2 separate regions of the Homo sapiens genome follow, and region 2 is linked to region 1. Evidence: promoter capture Hi-C in 16 types of primary human blood cells and fetal thymus (Javierre and others, 2016). All regions are on one chromosome and are shown on one strand. The core of a region is centred on a gene start or on the middle of the fragment in contact, and the rest is flanking DNA. Distances in the headings are between cores, read along the strand shown.

Region 1 (7,217 bases), core at 4,461-6,960:
TATTCTGTGAGCAGTAAATGTCTTTATTTCAAGAGAAATAAAACATACAACCATAAAAATTGCAAAGAACGAGATAAAATTAAAGCATGCAAAAGTTATGCTATAAAAGAAATCAAGAGTTGAGATAGATTAAAATTAGAAAAGATGTGGATTTGAATATCATGATTTACAAGTTTGACCTAATAAGAAAAATAAATTTTAAAACAAACATTACTAGAGATAACTGGATTATCACTTAGTGATAAAAAAAGAACATTCCTAAACATGATGGAATAAGCCCATCTCAGTTATCTATTGCTGCATTAAAAAAAAAAAAAGCCAAAACCTTGTGACTTAAAACAACAATGGTTCAATAAATGGACCATGCTCAACGAGATACTCAGATTAGCTGAACGTCATTAGTAACATTACAGCAAACACAGCATCAGATTCGGGTTTTTAAGTATAGCATCCAATCAACTGAATCAAGTCCAAATGTAGATGAGACTCTCCCAGTGTGGCTTTCAGGCAAGAAACAGAGATAAAGAGAGATATTTAATAATGGCGAGTGTGTCAAATTATCAGGAAGAGGTAACAATTCTAAATGTGTAAGCGCTTCATAAAATAACTTCAAAATATAAAACAAAAAAAGACAGAAATAAAAAGGAAGTTGACAAATTCACCATGATAATGGAAAACCCTAACATAATTCTCTTGGTAACTTATAGAATATTAGAAAAAATAGTAAGACCATAGGATATTTGAATAACACAATATAGAATATAAAATTATGTAATTCACAGAAATGAAATGCTGCACCAATATTTGCAAATATACATTGTTTTAAAGAAAACATGGAAAATTTACAAAACGTGACTATGTACTAGCCCATAAAGCAAATTTCAACATATTTCAAAAGACTGAAATCACAAAATATGTTCTCAGACCACAGTGGAATTAAACTAGAGATTAATATCAACAAAAATGAAAATCTCTATTAGGAAAAGAAACAATACACTTCAAAACAACCCATTGGCCAGAAGGAACACCCTAATGGAAATTAATAATATTCTTAACAAAATGATCATAGAGATATGACATATCAAAACTTACACATTGCAGTCACACTTAGACAAAACTGTATAGCATATTGGAAAATAAAAGATTAAAAAATCAAAGACCTAAGTATCCCTGTAAGAAGTTTTTAAAAAGCAAGTTAACTTTTAAAAGGTAAAATGAAGTAAATATTAAAGAAAAGAGGAGAAATTAATGAAATAGAAAATGAACATACAATACAGAAAAATCAACAAAGCCAAAAGGTTCTTTGAAAAGGCTAATTCAATTGATGATTCCCTCTAGAGACTGATCAAGAATAAAAGAATGACTAAGAGAAGACAGTTATCAATATTATGAGTGAAAAAATAAAAAACATTACTACAGATCTCAAATATATTAAAAAATAAATGAGGACATTGTAAATAATGTTGTGCCAATAGACTTGGAAATATTGATAAGCAAATTCCTAAAAATATACAACATATCAAAACTGGCACAAGAAGAAATAAAGTATCTGAATAATCTCATATCAGTTTTAAAAATCAAATCTGTAATTTGCCCTCCTCCAGAGAAAGTTCCAAGCCTAAGTACTTTTTTTTAATTATTATTATACTTTAAGTTTTAGGGTACATGTGCACATTGTGCGGGTTAGTTACATATGTATACATGTGCCATGCTGGTGCTCTGCACCCACTAACTCGTCATCTAGCATTAGGTATATCTCCCAATGCTATCCCTCCCCCCTCCCCCCACCCCACAACAGTCCCCAGAGTGTGATGTTCCCCTTCCTGTGTCCATGTGTTCTCATTGTTCAATTCCCACCTATGAGTGAGAATATGTGGTGTTTGGTTTTTTGTTCTTGCCATAGTTTACTGAGAATGATGATTTCCAATTTCATCCGTGTCCCTACAAAGGACATGAACTCATTTTTTATGGCTGCATAGTATTCCATGGTGTACACGTGCCACATTTTCTTAATCCAGTCTATCATTGTTGGACATTTGGGTTGGTTCCAAGTCTTTGCTATTGTGAATAATGCCGCAGTAAACATACGTGTGCATGTGCCTTTATAGCAGCATGATTTATAGTCCTTTGGGTATATACCCAGTAATGGGATGGCTGGGTCAAATGGTATTTCTAGTTCCAGATTCCTGAGGAATCGCCACACTGACTTCCACAATGGTTGAACTAGTTTACACTCCCACCAACAGTGTAAAAGTGTTCCTATTTCTCCACATCCTCTCCAGCACGTGTTGTTTCCTGACTTTTTAATGATTGCCATTCTAACTGGTGTGAGATGATATCTCATTGTGGTTTTGATTTGCATTTCTCTGATGGCCAGTGATGGTGAGCATTTTTTCATAAGCCTAAGTAAGTACCTTTACCAGTAAAATCTTCCAAACATTTAAGGAAGAAATAACATCAGTCGTACACAAACTCTTCACGAAAATAGAAAAAGAAGGAGCTTGCTTATGAGACCAATATAATTTTGTTACTAAAATTCATCAAGAAAGAAAATTGGTCCATCTTCCTCATGAACACAAATGCTAAAAAGCACAGCAAATTTATAAGTCAAATTCAAGAATATATAAAAAAGATAACACATCATGGCCAAGTTGGAATGCACAGTTGATTTTACATTTATAATCATCCATGTAATTCATCATATTAACAATAAAAGTAAATAATCATATGATCATATTAATAGAGGCAATAAAGGTATTTACTGAAACAGCATCCATTATTTAGGAAAAAAGGAAAATTTCTTAGCAAATTAGAAATATAAGGAAAGGTATTTAATCTGATACATAGTATTCACCAAAAAAAATTACAGAAAATATTATATTTAATATTGAAATATTAAGAGCTTTTTCTGTGAGACTAAGACAGGACACCTGATATTACCACTTCTCTTTAGTATCATGTTTGAGTTCCTAGTCAGTGCAATAAGTGAGAGAAAAGGAAGTTTAAGTATTAAAAATAATGAATAAAACTATCATTATATGATTGTGTTTGCATGAAATCTAAAATAACCTAAAGATAAACTATTAAAATTAATAAGTAAATTCCGCAATTTTAGTAGATATTAAAAGGTCAGTAAGGCCGGGCATGGTGGCTCACGCTTGTAATCCTAGCACTTTTGGAGGCCAAGGCGGGCAGATAACTTGAGGTCAGGAGTTTGAGACCAGCCTGGCCAACATGGTGAAACCTCATCTCTACTAAAAATACAAAAATTAGCTGGGCATGGTGGCAGACACCTATAATCCCAGCTACTTGGGACGCTAAGGCAGGAGAATCGCTTGAACCTGGGAGGTGGAGGTTGCAATGAGCCAAGATCGCACCAGTGCACTCCAGCCTGGGGGACAAGAGCAAAACTCTGTCTCAAAAAAATAAAAATAATGGTCAGTAAAACAAAAAAGTATTATATTTCTATATACCAATATACATTTAGAAAAAAATCTAATGATGTCACTTACAATATCATAAAAAACATATCAATAACCTAAGGATAAACCTACCAAAAGATATACTTTCCAGAGGCAAAGCTATAGAAAATTACTGAAAGAATGTCAAGTTAACCTAAATAAATGAGGGGATATTGTATGTTTATGGATTGGGAGACTAAATCTTTTCTAATTTATACAAATTAACTTATAAATCCAATGCAATCCCAGTTATTAAAAATCTACTAGGCTTTTGGGGAGAGAGGGGACAGGAATTGACAAGGTGATTTTTAAATGTATAGAAAAATTCAAAAAGCCAAAAATAGCCATAACAATTTTGAAGAAGAACAGCATTTTATGACTTAAACTATCAGTTAATAAGAGTTATTATAAAGCCACAATAATTAGAAGAGTGTGGTATTGGCATGAGGATAGACAAAATAGACTAATGGACAAGAAAGGAGTTTCCAAAAATAGACCTACATGGCTTTTTGTTTTATAACAAAGGTGAAATTGCACTGTACTGTGGAAAAAATCAACTTTCAATAAATAGGGCAGGATAAATTATCTGTATTTAAGTTAAAAGTGAATATAAACACTCAAACTGTACACAAAAATCAATTGCAATGCTCTTATAAATATAAAATAAATGGTAAAAAATAAAGTTTCTAGAAGATAACCTGGGAGAGTATCTTTATGATCTTGGAGTAGACTAACTTTCTTAGAAGGGATGCAAAAATCTCTAACCACAAAGGAGAAGACTGATAAACTGGACTATGTCAAAGTTAGAATGGTTGTTCATCAAAAGGCACTATCAATGAGCAAAGAAGCAAGCCACAGATTGAAGGAAGACATTTGCAATACATATATCCAACAAAAGGTTTATATTCAGGGTTTAAAATAACTACAAAACAGGAAAAGAAAGACTGAAAGTTAAGAGAAAAATGAGGAAATATTTGAACAGAGATTGCACATAAAAAGGATATCTACATCACCAATTAGACTATGAAAAAATGCTCATTCTCAAATTCACCAGAGACATACAAATTAAAACCACATTGAGATAATTCTAGCAGAACGGCCAGATTTTACTAGATGACAATACCAATATCAGCAAGAATTTTAGAACAATGATAACTCTCATACATTGGTTGGTGGGTGTGGTGGGAATTGGCACAACCACTTTGGAAAATAATTTGGTAATACTTCCTAAACTGAATATATGCATACCTTATGAGCCAGGACTTCCACTCCCAGATATATACCCAACAGAATTATGTGCGCATATGCCCCAATAAATGTATACAAGAATGTTCATAGCAGCACTATTTGTTTTAGCACCAAAAGTAGGTAAAGATTCTGTGTTCCCTTTGAAGTTCTCCTCTTAATCTCTATTCACCCCTGTAACCCCTGTATGGTTTTCTTGCCTCAGGGTGCAGTGGGTCAGATGTGACATAATATACCTAAGGTGATGTGCATTTGTAGATATAAAATTAAATGCCCCCTTAGGAAGACCAAGGTATGGGCCCAGAGAGAAAGGGTGAGAAAATATTTGAAAGAAAGAAACTGGCACTCCTCGTGGCAGCTAATGTCTTAGGAACCTCTGTTGACCAGTATACCAGGATGGAAACTTGACTTTTAGAAAATCATAAGAGCTATACATTCACCTGGTAATTTTTTAAAAAATCAAACGGTACAGAAATACATAAAATAAATTGTGTTCTTCCCACCTATTGCTCCTCAAACATAATCAATATTTTTGTGTGTACTTTCCAGGAAAAGAAGAAAGTATACTTAAAAGAGTTGATGTACACATATATCCTATTTTTTATATTTACCCAATGGGATAATACTACAAAACCAATCTATATCTCACTTTTATTCTCTTCACATCAAACAAGGTGGTCTTCCCTTCTTGGCATGTTCAGATTTACCTTATTCTTTAATGATTGCTTGTCACCATACGGATGAATCAGAATATTCTTAAACAGTCCCCATATCATGGTTTTTTGTTTTGTTTCCAGTGTTTAGGCAATAATGAATGCTACAATAAACGTTCTTATAGTACTCTCTTCAGATACTTCCTTCAGGGTAATTTCCCAATAGCAAAAATGTAGGGTCAAGGGTATTTGATTTTTTAAAACCTTAACTTTTTTTTTTCTTTGATCATCGGGTAGGAAACTGTGATTAGCAGCTGAAGACGGGTACTCCCACTTCCTTTTTTCAATTCACTAATGCATTCTGCTCTTTTTGAGAGCACAGCTTCTCAGATGTGCTCCTTGGAGCTGGTGTGCAGTGTCCTGACTGTAAGATCAAGTCCAAACCTGTTTTGGAATTGAGGAAACTTCTCTTTTGATCTCAGCCCTTGGTGGTCCAGGTCTTCATGCTGCTGTGGGTGATATTACTGGTCCTGGGTGAGTAAAAGGGCTCACCATGGGCCCTGGGTGGGATCGGGACAGCTTCTCTCTCCACCGCAGGCCTGGTCCTTTCTTGGGGCTCAGCCCCTGCTGAGAGACTCTCTCCTACATTAGGAGACTGTATTTTTGAACTTTACTCTGTAGCTCAGGGCTTTCTCTTGAGGCTGAAGAAAATGGCCACAGCTGGAAGGAATTTTCAATCTTACAGAGTAGGAAACCACAATAACCACAACAATTAAAATTTCATTTATTTTTTTCTTTAAAAAGTACTTCTTAAAGTCCAGAGAATGTTTCATGTTTGTTTGTTCATATTGTCTTACTCATAGAAGAGCCCACTCTCCTCTCTGCAGAGGAGATGTATTTATTCCTTGTATGACAAGGCCAGATCCTGGTCCCCAGCATAAGAGGCAAGGTTTCTAACGGGAAAGACAGGTCTTTCTCTTGTACATAATTGCAAACCACTGCAGCAATTGGCTGATTAAGAACATGGGGTGGAGGAGGTCGCAGAGGCGTAGGTGGACAAAGCAAGGATAAATCTAAAGCATATGACTTTCTCTTTGTCCCTGTGGGTGTACGTAAGTCTCTATCAACTCATATGTGCGAACTGGTTGATTTTTACTAAAGGTTAAATATTATAATTAAATATGTTTATTTATTTGTTCAGCAAATGTGTTTAGTAATATCTATGCACAGGTGCTGAGCAATTAGAGTCCATAGGAGACACTACGTCTATGTTCTGGAAAGTCATGACATAGAAGGGCTCCCAGCAAGGCCAATGTACTTTCAAGCAGCTATGCAACAAGCTCCCAGTTAAATAATTGTCCAGGCAAAGTTACCAATGAATGCTGTAGGCAGATAATAAACTGTATTCAAAATAGCTAGTAAAGACTTCATGAAACTTAGAGGTGAGTAGGAGCTAGAGGAGCAGAAATGGAGCAGGCGTGATATAAGAAAAGAGGACCTCACAGTTGGAAGGTGCATGGACTATAATTCCTGAAGTAGGAATACATCTCAGTGTGGCCCCACACAATGTGGGTAATGGCCAGGTCCTGAGCATGAGAGGGCAAAGTTTATAACATGGGCTCTGGGGTCAAACAGGATCTAGGTTCAAACTTCATCTTGCCACCTACTGGCTACCAGATTCCTGGTCTACAAAATGCAGTTAATCCTAGTGCTTACCTCACAGGATTATTGACATGGTTATATGAAATAACCTACGTAAATGCAGACCATATAGAAACCACTCACAAAAATATTAGCTTCATTTAAAACAATGCAAAGATGAAGGAAGCCAAAATATTCAGGTGAATGGTGAATAATT
Region 2 (7,003 bases), core at 4,416-6,915, 570 kb before region 1:
ATTGATTACAAAGCCTAAATTTTCCTCTATAAATTGGGCATGTGCTGACTGTGGGATATTGAAATTATTGGGAGCTCACAGCATCTCAAGTTATATAATGAAGCTATTCTGGAAGCTCATTTCCAGAAGATCCTTAAAATGAAATGGCTCACTCTCTGCTGAATTGTAGGTACACTCTTTCCTCCTCTTCACTTAATGCTGGGAGTAAAATGTATTTTTTTTATTAAGAAATGATTTGAAGTACCATACATTTTTCTCTCCTCTCTCACCCTCCAACTTAGTGGGTTGACAAAATTTTAAAATATCATATCCTAAAATGATAATTTTTCTTTTTCTTTTTTTGTCCTTTCAGAATTTGGAGCAAGTTAACTCCTTTTTCAAATGAAATCCAAATTAAAGAGGCAGTTTTTTTGAAAAACCAAACTCTTATTCAATTCGGTTTGGGTAACCCTAGGGAGAATTTTACTACTTGCCTGAAATGAATGAATATTTTTCTAGGAGAAGAACCTCTTTGCCCAGTCTATTGTTAACCCTTCCTTTTAGAAGCATCATATCAGGTGTCCTCTTGCTTCAACCCTCACATGCATTTGACTCTGGAAGTCTTAAACCAGGGCCCCTTCCCTCTAAACCTTTCCTCCATTGCTTACAATCATGGAACTGTGTTTGGCCACTGGAAGAATAAGTCACTCGGGGTATGTGGCCATGCACTCTGCATCTCAAAGCATGGGTCACTCTTTCACCCCCACTTTAGCCCATAGAAATTTGGAAGCTTGGTCCTTTGGTGCTGTAGAGAGGCTAGGGTTGCTACCAGACCCAAGGGGAGTCCACCCCAGTGAGGGCTCTCACCTGCCTCCTGGAGTGCCTGTTGCCAATGGTGGCGGTGGGTGTTTGTTTCTGTGGTTGACCAGCTTTGGCAGAAACAAACCACCAAGTAGCTGGCAGATGAAACTGAAAAGCCTCATGACTGAGAAAGACATAGCCCGGTTGCCTCTGACAGCTGAGGCCCTCTTTATTAAAAGCCACCAGCATTCCTCCCAAGCATGGTGTGCTTGGAAAATAGTGCATGCTAGGGGTGGGATGGGGAGTGGTGTCTTGACATGAGTGGGCATGGGTTCCATGCCTTTCCTTGTTGGGGAGGAGTTCCACCAAAGGTCTGTGCATGTCTTAGAATTGGCAGAAAGATCTTCAGCACTCCTAACACTCTTCAAATCTTTCTTTCCTATCATGCAGATGCCTCTATTCACCCAGCAGATATTTACTGAGCTCTCACTGTGTACCAGACCCTGTCCTGGATGCTGGGATACAAGAATAGCAGAAAGGTGCCCATCTTCTCTCTCCTAGAGCCCATACAGCACAGTGAGAGAGACAGATGTTAACGAAATAACCGCATACATGATTTTTTAATTATAAATGGAGAAAAGTGCTCTGAAAAAGGAATCTGGCTTTATGAGAGTATATATGAAAGGAATCTGACCTAGACAGAGAAAGTTTACCTGAGGAAGTAATGCTTGGGCTGAGAACTGAAGGGTGAGTGAATGAGAAACAGGTGAGGGGCAAAAGAAGGGCCAGGCCCCCCGGATAGAGAGACAGCACCGGCCAAGGCCTGTGAAGGGAGCAGTCAATGGGATAGAAAGATGGTCAGCAGTTCTGGAACACAGAAATTGAACACAAAAATAAAGCATTATGAGGCTGGAGACATAGGTGGGACTGTATCTCACAGAACCCTGGTGGGCAGTAATCACTGGTGACTGAGCTGTGGAGGGGGGATGGGGATAGATCTCTAAGGCTCCTTCCAGCTGGTGCATTTCTGCACTTACTAGTTAGGTGCATGTATTAAAAGACTCCTGGCCAGGCGGGCGCGGTGGCTCATGCCTGTAATCCCAGCACTCTGGGAGGCCGAGGTGGGTGGATCATGAGGTCAGGAGATTGAGACCATCCTGGCCAACATGGTGAAACCCAGTCTCTACTAAAAATACAAAAATTAGCTGGGCGTGGTGGTGCATGCCTGTAATCCCAGCTACTCTGGAGGCTGAGGCAGGAGAATCTCTTGAACCCGGGAGGCGGAGGTTGCAGTGAGCCGAAATCGCACCGCTGCACTCCAGCCTGGCAACAGAGCAAGACTCCGTCTCAAACAAAAACAAAAACAAAACAAAAAAAAAGACTCCTGGCCCAGATTGTTTCACACTTCCCAGAGACTCAAAGTTCCCCTCCTCCCATGGAACTCAAAGCCATTTCCTTCCATCCTCCAGGATTTAGTTACTCCCCAAACTCCTCAAGCCCCGCCTACATTCTTCTGTTTCTATTATTCAGACTTAAGGACAAACCGGCCAGGCTGCACTGTAAGCTTATGGCCATCAGATGGCAGCAAAACATCAGCAAACCTGGTCCTTGTAGCACCCGCAAAGGCAAAGGGACTCAGCTGGATAGTCAGTCCCTCCCTCCACCTCCATAAAGGCCTATAATCAAGTCATCCACAATAATGGGAATCTCTTTTCCAGAAGTTCTCCAGGGTTGGAAATTTCAGAATTTTAAAAACATGTGTTATATATTGAGCATCAATTATACACTGGTTCTTAACATATGGTATCTTTTTGCTACCTAGCTATGCTGTGAAAAGGGCATTATCCCTCCTATACAAGGAAAATTGAGGCTCGGAGCATCAGGGAGGCTGGTTATCTGTTCAAAGGCTCATAGCAGAGCCTGAATTCTTTTCCTCTCCCATGCTGCTCCCTGCATTCATCATGGAATAAGACATTTTCAGCTTCGAGGAAGCTCTTCTTTCTCTATCAGAAATCATTTTGCTCTAAAATGCTGCTGGCATTAATTTATAGTATTCTCTTTAGGGAGATGCTCTGCCAGGGGTGCCTTGTGTCTGCCTCCCTTACCTCCTATGGCTTTTCTCCAACACCCTCCAAGAGGTCTGTCGGCAGCTCCAGCTCCTGCACCTGTAGGCATCAAGTCAACAAGCACTGACCATCATAAAGCAGCCAGTGAGCAATGGGTGGCAGAGAGAAGGTGGTGAAGAGCAATGAGATGTTAATCCCTTCTTTGAGGAGCTTTAGTTCCAGATGTGGCTAAGGGCTTCCCTTGGACTAACAGCAGCCACAGGTGGTTTCTGAGACAGGCCAAGGATGGGGTGTTGGCATTCTAAAGCCTGAAGGGTCCTTGTGGGCTAGGGAAAGCATCCAGAAGCAGCTGCAATGTTAGGGAAACAGCTAGCATAGACTTAAGAGTGGAAGGGAATTCATGAGGCATGACAGGGGGGCAGTGAGCCAGCTGCATGACGCATGCAGGGAAACAATGGGGAGTCAGGTGAGAAAATAGCACTCGCCTATGGTAGAGACCTTGAATATCAGGCTAAGGTGTTCAATTTCAAGCTAGAGGGAGCCAGGGAAGGAAAGTGACACATGAAATAAACACTCAAGGTTAATCTGGCATGGTTGATGAATAGGAATAGGGAAAAATTAAGAAGATAGGCTACAATGCTATAGTTTTATCATAAAGGTTTCCAAAGTTTTATCAAAAACTTTCCAAAGTTCCCTAATTACCCTTTGGTAAGAAATAGGGAGAAATTAAGTCAAGAAGATAAGTTAAAATGCTATAGTTTTATCATAAAATGTTCCATAGTTCCTGGTTCTTTCCTGTTTCTCTGACTTTGCCTGTTTATATTTTCCACCTGAACTGCCCTTTTGTAAATATTTCTCTGCTCAGTTTTTTGTTTTTTGTTTTGTTTTGTTTTTGTTTTTTGAGACAGAGTCTCACTCTGTTGCCCGGGCTGGAGTACAGTGGTGCCATCTGGGCTCACGCAACCTCCGCCTCCTGGGTTCCAGTGATTCTAATGCCTCAGCCTCCCAAGTAGCTGGGATTACAGGCGTGCACCAAAACGCCTGGTTAATTTTTGTATTTTTAGTACAGATGGGGTTTTGCCATGTTGGCCAGGCTGGTCTTGAACTCCTGATCTCAGGAGATCCACCCACCTTGTCCCCCAAAGTGCTGGGATTACAAGAATGAGACATGGCGCCCAGCCTGTTCAACAGTTTTTTAAGAGTGTGTGTGGAGAGGTAGAAGTTGAATTCAAAGGGGTCCATCTTCAGAACTTTGTCAAAAAGCAGGCGATACCAATAAGGACCTTTGCTGACTCCCATCTTCCTAACTTGGAGCATCAGCTGGCTGGGTCAGTAGCTGAAACAGGTGATGCCACAAATTGGGGGTGGGGTGAGAAACCTAGAAAAGTTTGGGAGTCACAGAGCTGTCTTCTCAAGCGATTGAGAGATGCTCTCTAACTGTTCCAGCCCACTGAAGCTCAAAAACTGTGGATTCCCTAAGTGGGCAGGGGCAGCAGCCATAGAATCAGCACTGCCCAGAGCTGCCATCATCCAGACAGACTCATGGAGTGCCAGAGCCAGAAGCTCCTTGGCCCACCCGGAACTTCACTCTCACTTTACACAGGCCTCTGGTGCCCAGGGGTAAGTGGGGGAGGCCTGAGTGTGGAGGTGTGTTTCAGAGAAACTGGGAGTGGAATGCTGGCTCCACCCTTCATTCATACCAGCTGTGCATCCACAGCAAATTACCTAAGCCAGTGGTTCTCAATGTATGGTTCTGGGATCCCTAAGGATACCCCAAGACCCTTTCAAGGGATCCATGAAATGGAAACTATTTTAATAAAAATATTAATATGTTTTTCACTCTCTTTCATGAGTGTACAGAAGAGCTTTTGAAAGACTACATGTTGCATTTTAAAGAGATTTGCAAACATGTAAAACACTGTTATTCTTCTTTCCAAATATGTTATTTCTGTTAATATATAATAAGTTTATCATAGTTATTTTTACATAAAATAAGTATTTTTTAAAAGTTTAGTGTTAGTTTCTAACAAACTGAAGTTCCTTGGGGTCCTCCATAATTTTTTTTTTTTTTTTTGAGATGGAGTATCACTCTGTTGCCCAGGCTGGAGTGCAGTGGCGTGATCTCAGCTCACTGCAACCTCTGCCTCCTGGGTTCAAGTGATTCTCCTGCCTCAGCCTCCCAAGTAGCTGGGACCACAGGTGCGTGCCACCACGCCTGGCTAATTTTTGTATTTTTTAGTAGAGACGAGGTTTCACCATATTGGACAGGCTGGTCTCGAACTCCTGACCTCATGATCCACCCGCCCAGCCTCCCAAAGTGCTGTGATTACAGGCGTAAGCCACCACGCCTGGCCTGGGATCCTCCATAATTTTTAAGATTGTAAAGGCAGACTTAAAAAGTTTGAGAACCACTGATTTAAACTCTTTAGTTTAAATTTCCTTATCTTATCCATCTCTATCTGTAAAATGGACACAACACTTACTTCACAGGATAGTTGAGGCTTTAAAAAGACACCTCATATAAAATGCCTAGGCAAGGTTTTTGAAACACTGCTTTCTCCAACATCAGCTCAGAGCAGTTCTTGGCTTTCTCTGGCATTCAGTCAAGATCTAGTGTCTGGGAAACAAAACTTTGTGGAGTACAAAGATGCTTTCCTGCCGGAAGCCAAGATCTGGGTACACAAGGTCCCATCTGTACCTGGGGAAGACCCCTGTGTCAAGAGCACCACACAGTGAGTGACAAGTCCAACTAGACACATCACAGTAAGGTGCCCATCGGCAACAGCTGAGTTCCCAGAACCTGTTAGCGCACCTGTAGCTCACCTCTCTCACCACCTGAGGGCAGAAACCCCACACAAATAGAACAGCAGAGTGGGCTCAGGACAAAAACCAAATTAAGCTCTTAAAATGGGCACTTCCAGAACAGGAAAAGTCGCTTCAGATGATGTGTCCCTTAAACAGCTGTTTTAGGAGCTGTGACATTTTCCAACCATGAGTAAACAGGGGCAGCTGACCCGGCCATGGGGATGATAAACACCAAGAATAGGGGAATAGGGGACACATCCATGCAGAGTCCCAGTTACCAGTCTTCCTTTAAGCAAGAATGATTTTCATATTGTAATGCCTGCCTAGGCTTTTTTTTTTTTAAACACTGCTACCTCCACCCCCCGAATCTCCCGAATGAGGCTGTCTTTTTTTTTTTTTTTTTTTTTTTTTTGAGATGGAGTCTCGTTCTGTTGCCCAGGCTGAAGTGCAGTGGTGCGATCTCGGCTCACTGCAACATTTACCTCCCGGGTTCAAGCGATTCTCCTGCCTCAGACTCTTGAGTAGCTGGGATTACAGGCATGTGCTACCATGCCAGGCTAATTTTTGGCATTTTTGGTAGAGACAGGGTTTCACCATGTTGGCCAGGCTGGTCTCAAACTCCTAACCTCAAGTGATCCACCCGCCTCGGCCTCCCAAAGTGCTGGGATTACAGGCATGAGCCAACGCCCCCCAGCCGAATGAGTCTGTCTTAATTCTAATTAGATACTGGAAGGAGTCAGAAGATGGACTCCTAGACTGACCTGGTCACTAATTCCCTGTGTAAGTGAGCTTCAGTTTCCTCCTGTGTAAAATGGAGAGGAAAAAAGAAATACACACATCTCATAGGATTGTAAGGAGCTAAGGAAAGAGACAGAAAGGATCTTTGTGAAGTCTAAAGTGCCCTTCAGTATTTCTTACTGTAACTGTCTCAGGCAGCAAAAGCTAAATAGTTACATCCTTTTCATACATCGGTAGATCCTTTTTAATATATGCAGAAAAAACAATATGCCTGGCTTGGGTTCAGAAAGGAGCAGTGATTTAGCAAGAGCATGTTCCTTGGAGTTTAGTTGGTCTCCTTGATTCAATTAATGCTCAATCTGAGTGAAATGGTTCTAGAAGACAGCCATACAAATGTGATTTGGGAAAAATTGTACTTTCCTGTTAATGAGTGCCTATTTAACACTTTAGAGTTTAAAAATGATTTTACCTACATTATCCCAAGTCCTCCTAAGAATACTGAGAGGAAGCTAGTCTTCTTTCTACAAGAACAGGCTGAGAGAAGTAAAGTAACCTGCTGAAGGTTTCAAAGCAAGTCAGAGGTGCAGCCAGATCTGCTGAGTCTAAGGTTTGCA

The links. The method cuts DNA at HindIII sites, captures the fragments that hold promoters and counts their contacts. A CHiCAGO score of 5 or more calls a contact.
Region 2: a contact is called between a fragment that was not itself captured here and the fragment with the promoter of FCRL5 in region 1, in 4 of 17 cell types (activated CD4 T cells, non-activated CD4 T cells, total CD4 T cells and 1 more). The highest score is 7.1, in activated CD4 T cells.

What each region holds. Positions count from the first base shown.
Region 1 is chr1:157,551,008-157,558,224 of GRCh38, reverse strand. FCRL5 (Fc receptor like 5) reads left to right here and starts at 5,710. Exons shown (of 17, transcript NM_031281.3): 1 at 5,710-5,893. The coding sequence starts at 5,863. The HindIII fragment of the contact is 25,493 bases long and covers 1-7,217 here.
Region 2 is chr1:158,120,516-158,127,518 of GRCh38, reverse strand. SMIM42 (small integral membrane protein 42) reads left to right here. Exons shown (of 1, transcript NM_001395415.1): 1 at 1-232. Among named protein-coding and RNA genes, the nearest start is that of SMIM42, 4.3 kb to the left of the region's middle. RefSeq lists a silencer at 2,270-2,439. The HindIII fragment of the contact is 6,638 bases long and covers 2,347-7,003 here.